2 separate regions of the Homo sapiens genome follow, and region 2 is linked to region 1. The links are contacts of gene promoters, found by promoter capture Hi-C in blood cells and fetal thymus (Javierre and others, 2016). All regions are on one chromosome and are shown on one strand. Each heading gives the region's core, a stretch centred on a gene start or on the middle of the fragment in contact. The rest is flanking DNA. Distances are from core to core; before and after follow the strand shown.

What was found. The method cuts DNA at HindIII sites, captures the fragments that hold promoters and counts their contacts. A CHiCAGO score of 5 or more calls a contact.
Region 2: a fragment that was not itself captured here is called in contact with the fragment with the promoter of LINC02694 in region 1 in 3 of 17 cell types (naive CD4 T cells, non-activated CD4 T cells and activated CD4 T cells); the score reaches 6.2 in naive CD4 T cells.

The regions. Positions count from the first base shown.
Region 1 is chr15:38,695,104-38,698,046 of GRCh38, reverse strand. LINC02694 (long intergenic non-protein coding RNA 2694) reads right to left here and starts at 1,449. Exons shown (of 2, transcript NR_160786.1): 1 at 1,308-1,449. RefSeq lists an enhancer at 1,290-1,339. The HindIII fragment of the contact is 8,690 bases long and covers 1-2,943 here.
Region 2 is chr15:38,640,680-38,643,680 of GRCh38, reverse strand. No RefSeq gene overlaps it. Among named protein-coding and RNA genes, the nearest start is that of LINC02694, 54 kb to the left of the region's middle. The HindIII fragment of the contact is 2,397 bases long and covers 70-2,466 here.

The DNA of each region.
Region 1 (2,943 bases), core at 200-2,699:
TAATGAATGGGATGGGTCTGGAGCACCTGCCTGGGATGGAGCCACTGACTGACTATGAAGGAGCAGAGAGTTCTACGTGCTTCCTAAAAACGCCAGCTTCTAGCAACACCTATGCCAGGGGACATCAGCAAAAAAGTAAACCCAGGGGTGCCAAGAAGCACTTGAGACCAGAGTAAGGATGCCCTCCCCGTCACTGGCACACAGCTAACCATGGAAAAGGACTTCTCTATGACTGCCAGCCACCAAGGAAATTAGGGACACCAGAGGCAAGAAAATTATGTTCAGTTACAAAATACATTCCATTTTATAGCCATTTCTATTATCGGTTGCTACTATAATAAATTACCAAAACTTTAGCAGCTTAAAACACACACTATCATTTAGTTCTATGGGCCAGAAGTCCTATGGGTCTCATAGGACTAAAATCAACGTCTCGGCAGGACAGCGTTCCTTGGTGGCAGCTCTGGGGGTGCATCACTATCTTTGCTCATTCTGGTCTTGACAGTTCCGTGGGACTGTAAGACTGAGGTCCTTGCTGGTTGCTAACTGGGGCCACCCTGAACTCCTAGAAGACATTTGCTCTGTCCTTACATAGAGTCCCTACCTCTCAGAACCAGCCACAGGGCATGGAATCCTTCTCTCATGGCCCTCTCTTTGACTCCAATTCCCCTAGCTGCATTTCTGTCTCTGACTGCACCCAGGGAAGCCTGTCTGCTTTTTAGGATTAGATTAGGCCCATTCGGATAATCCAGGATAATCTCTTTATCTCAAGATCCTTAATGTTAACCACACTTGCAAAATCCTGTTTGCTATTAAGATAACATATTTACAGTTTCTAGGAATGAGAATGTAAACATCTTTGGGTTGGGGGAGTGGGCATCTTTCTGTCTATCAAACTATTCACCAGGCATTTATTTACTATCTTAATGGCCAAGTACAGTGCTATGTGCTGAATTGATGTTGGTATAAGGGGCATGGGGCAGGGGAGAAAGTCTAGGATGGGTGATGCCCCCCACTGGGATATCTGACTTAGAGCTTTGCAGTACTCCAGGGGATGCTGTTGACATAAAATACAATGTAGATTGTAACTCTCACCTCTCACTCCCTTAACCCTCTTGACTCCCCAGTCCTTGCCCCTGACTTATACAGGCTGGAGGTGTCTGAATAAGGTCATTCCAGTTCTCTGGGAGGCAGGAGCTAAGCTCACCAGGGGACTGAGATCCAGGTTCAGCCATAGCAGAAACTGAGAACCCTGCTAGATCCAGGTTCAGCCATAGCAGAAAAAAACAGAGCAAGGTGGGACTTACAGCCATCCAAACAGACGCCTGGAGACAGATGCTGCTCCTGCCCTTAGCCTTGCTTCCTGGCCTGGTTTCATGGTTCCTCCGGGGACTAGAGAGGGAAATGCCCAGGTCCTCTTGGGCCCCTTGTAGCTCCATATCAGAACAGAAAACCTGTCACTAACTGAAGTCCCTTCCGGCTGAGGTACCCCGGCCTATATTTTGCAGCTCCAGGGCTCATCAGAGCCACCAATTTGCTGATGGGTTCTCAACCACAAGGATGGTGAGTCAGCACAGTGGTTGACTCTCAGCAGAGAGGATGCAGCCTTCAGCAGAGCTCCTGGTGGGGCAGCCTCCTGATCAGCCTGTGCTGTGGTCCTGCCCCTGCATTTCTTCCAGTCCTGGACGTCCCTGGCCTGGCTGGCACCCTAGTCGCACACCCAAGAAGCAGTTCAGCTTGCTGAGCACAGTGTTTCCCAAAACTGTGGCATAAGAGGTGAAGGATAGACCAGGGAGGAAGTCTTCAGCCCAGTCTGACAAACACAGGCCAACGTTTGGCCAACAGCAACTCAGGCTCTTTGCTCTAGGCCAAACTTGAAACATTAGTGTGCTGGTAGGTGTTCTGCCTTCCCTCCCTCTGCTCTAGAATTCAGATCTGGAAGCCAGGTCCTGACAGCTGGGATCCAGATGCAGTCCCCATCACAGCATCACATTCTGGCCAACCAGGCTTCCAGTGGCAGGAGCTGCCACCAGGAATGGGCACCAGTCCTCTCTCAGTTAAAAAGCCTTTGCTTCACACCACAAAACCCAAAGTGCCAGCTGTGGTGACAACCACTGCTCCTACCACTTAAAATTTGCTGGCAAGGGAGACTTTTAGAGAATGATTCCCCCACAAATATAGCATTCCTTTTTTTAATCTTTCCTGTACCCCTCTTAGGGCTAAGTTACTGATGATAGCCCTGCGTGATACAGAGCAAGCTGGCAGCAAGGAGGAAAATTGTCAGCAGTGACAAGCTCCAGATGACAGTTATGTGGCTTGGAAGGCAAGTCTTACTCTAAAGAGATCCTGCCCCCATCCCAGCTCTGGATTACTTGGTCTGATAGGTTTTACAGGGTATGACCCCAGTTTTCTGTTTAAGGACATTGGCCTCCAGATATGACTAGGAGGGAGTTTTCCTCTAATATCTTTCCGCAAAGATCACCATGACAATGACCAGAATAATAAATATCTATAATCACATGCAATCTTTAGCTTTAGTAATAGAGTGTGACAGAGAACTCTGCTGCTGCTGCTGCTGCTGCTGCTGCTGCTGCTGATAGTGATGGCGATGATAAGGAAGACACAAGATAATCTGACCTTCCTCAGCCTCTGATGGCTGATTACAGGTAGATGTGGCTTCTGAAGCAAAGTTACATAATTCACCTCTTGTTCCTGATCCACTTTTAGCAAAACTTCCGTGGAAAGGACCTTGTACCTTCTTGAAGTATCCAACATGCTGTCATCTTTATGTTTTCCTACCAAGTTCCCACATTTCTGCCTCAGTGGGTTCTACAGTCTGAACCCCAGAAACAATTTCATAGTTCAAACATCTGGCATGCTATTACATCAAAGGGATTGCAGATTCCCAACCTGGAATGGAAGAATCCTTGACTCCCCGCACCC
Region 2 (3,001 bases), core at 19-2,518, 54 kb after region 1:
TTACTAATCTGGTTTTCAACTCCATCTTCTTTTCTGGGATCTAGGGATTTCCTTTTTTTCTGGCAAGCTTAGCAAATATTTCAAAAAAATTTTTACACACCTTATTTGGCTTCTCTCACAATTTGTAGCGGGAGAGTTTCAGGTTATCTTAGTCTACCCTTTTGCCAGAACTAAAGATATTCTGTGTATTTGGGGTACATGCACATATGCACAATAGCTTGTGTTATGCACGTGCAAAACATGCACATAAACTAACAACGCCCACAATTCCATAAGGTCAAATTTCTATAAGAAATTTCTTATTATATAATAACAAAATCACTCATAGTTGTTTCTCCTTCTCTGATTGAACCCTGACTAATACAAAAATTGGTACTAAGAGTGGTTTTGTTGTTTGCTTCTAAATGTGCTTGAAAATGTGTAGAAAACAAAAAAACAGCTCAGGACTAAATTCCCAGCTCAAGATCTACATAAGGGGCCTCAAATATATGACTACCCTAAAAGAAACTTTTATCTTCTTCTGCCTTAGGGCTAAGATTTTCAAAAGCCACACCCAAAGTCTAGAACAGCAGGTGGCTGACTTACAATGCAAATTGACTTCCCTTCCTCATAGAGTCTCCTATGTTAAAGTTAGGATATTAACTGGTAAAGAGGCTGAGTGTAGTGGTTCACACCTGTAATTTAGCACTTCAGGAGGCTGAGGCAGGAGAATTGCTTGAGGCCAGAAGTTCCAGAACAGCCCAGACAACACAGCAAGACCGCATCTCTACAAAAAAAGTTTAAAAAATTATTCAGATGTAGTGAAGCATGACTGTAGTCCCAGCTGCTCAGGAGGCTGACGTGGGACAATTGTTTGAGCCCAAGAGTTTGAGGCTGCAGTGAGCTATTTTACTACTGCACTCCAGCCTGGATAACACACTGAGACATTATCTCTAAAAGTATTTTTTAGGCAGGGCACAGTGGCTCACGCCTGTAATCCCAGTACTTTGGGAGGCCCAGGCGGGTGGATCACAAGGTCAGGAGATCGAGACCATCCTGGCTAACATGGTGAAACCCTGTCTCTACTAAAAATATAAAAAAAATAGCCGGGCGTGGTAGCAGGCACCTGTAGTCACAGCTACTCGGGAGGCTGAGGCAGGAGAATGGCATGAACCTGGGAGGTGGAGCTTGCAGTGAGCTGAGATCGCGCCACTGCAACCCAGCCTGGGTGACAGAGCGAGACTCCGTCTCAAAAAAAAAAAAAAACAACAACAAAAATAACCAATACTTTTTAATTGATAGAGAATGCAATCCTGAGTATTGGGATGTGAATATATGGGTAAATCCTAATGAAGCTGGTAGATTCAAACCCCTTAACTCTCTTAACTCTCCTTTGCCAATAGAGGCAGCCCTTCTTCCCCTAAGGAGATTAGTCTCCTCTTATCTGAAGAGCCTATCATTACCTCTCCTGAGATATATTGCCTTGCTGGAACTCCTGAGATATTTTGCCTTGCTTGATCTTCCTCCAGCCCTAATCCCACCACCATTCACTGCTCCTTTACTAGACCTAAATCTCAGTGGGTTTCTGTGTGAAGAAGACTCATGTGGTCAAGATACAAAGTGTGACTTAAGAGGAGGTACAATAAACAACAAATGAACTGAATTATTTTACCAGTTTTCAACAACAGAAATCTAAGTAACAACCAATTCCCAACCTTGAGCCAGTTCACAGACCCAGAACTCCTTGAATAAAGAAGAGACTGAGTCCCCTTGAGTAAGGACCATGCTACCCAGACAAAAAATACAGATACTAAATCTTCCTCTTAGCTCTCCCCAAAGGGACTTATGGCCTTTATCCAGGAAATTGTGCATTGGAGAAGGAAAAATGATCAGGCTTTTCAGTGAATACTGGACATCCACTAATTACTGTAGATCTAAAGCACCACTGTGATCCATCAATCAGCAGGATTTTATGGAAGTCAAGCAATGAATGGGATTTTGGCTCAAGTCTGTCTCACAGTAGCCCTGGTGGGTACCCTAACCACTGACAAAAGCATCACTGTATGCCACTGAGGTTTTGTGGCTGTTTGTTATGCATTATTATTGTGACAGCTGATAACTGATATAATTAAGAATATTTAGGTGAGGCTAACAACTGTTAGAATGGTTATCACCAAAAAGGCAAAAGTTAATTTGCAAGGATGTGGAGTAAAGAGAAACCTCACAAACTGTTGATAGGAATGTAAATTAACACTACTATTATGGAAAACAGTATAAAGGTTTCTCAAAAAATTAAAAATAGAACTACCATATGATCCAGCCAGCAATCCCACTACTCGGTTTATATCCCAAGGAAATAAAATCAGCGTGTCAAAGAGATATCCTCACTCCCATGCTTGTTGCAGCATTATGCCCAAGAGCCAAGATATGGAATCAACCTAGGTGTCCATCAGTGGATGAAGAGATGTTTTGAATGAGGTATAAGCTTGTCTAACCTGTGGCCCATGGGCTGCATGCAGCCAAGGATGGTTTTGAATGCAGCCCAACACAAATTCGTAAACTTTCTTAAAACATTATGATTTTTTTTTTGCAATTTGTGTTTTAGCTTATGAGCTATTGTTAGTGTTAGTGTATTTTATGTGTGGCCCAAGACAATTCTTACTCTTCCAATGTGGCTTGTGGAAGCCAAAAGATTGGATACCCTTGTAGTATATATACACACAACGGAATACTATTCAGTCATAAAGGAGAAGGAAATCCTATCATTTGCAACAACACGATGAAACTGGAAGACATTATGTCAAGTGAAATAAGTCAGGCACAGAAAGATAAATACTGCATGATCTTACTCACATGTGAAATCTAAAAAAGTTGATCTCATAGAAGTAGAGAGTAGAACGGTGGTTACAAGAGACTGAGGTGATTGGGGTGGGTTGGGGAGATTGTTGGTCAAAGGCTGTGAAATTTCAGTTAGGAAGAAAAAGTTTATGAAATCTATTATACAACATGGTAACTATAGTAA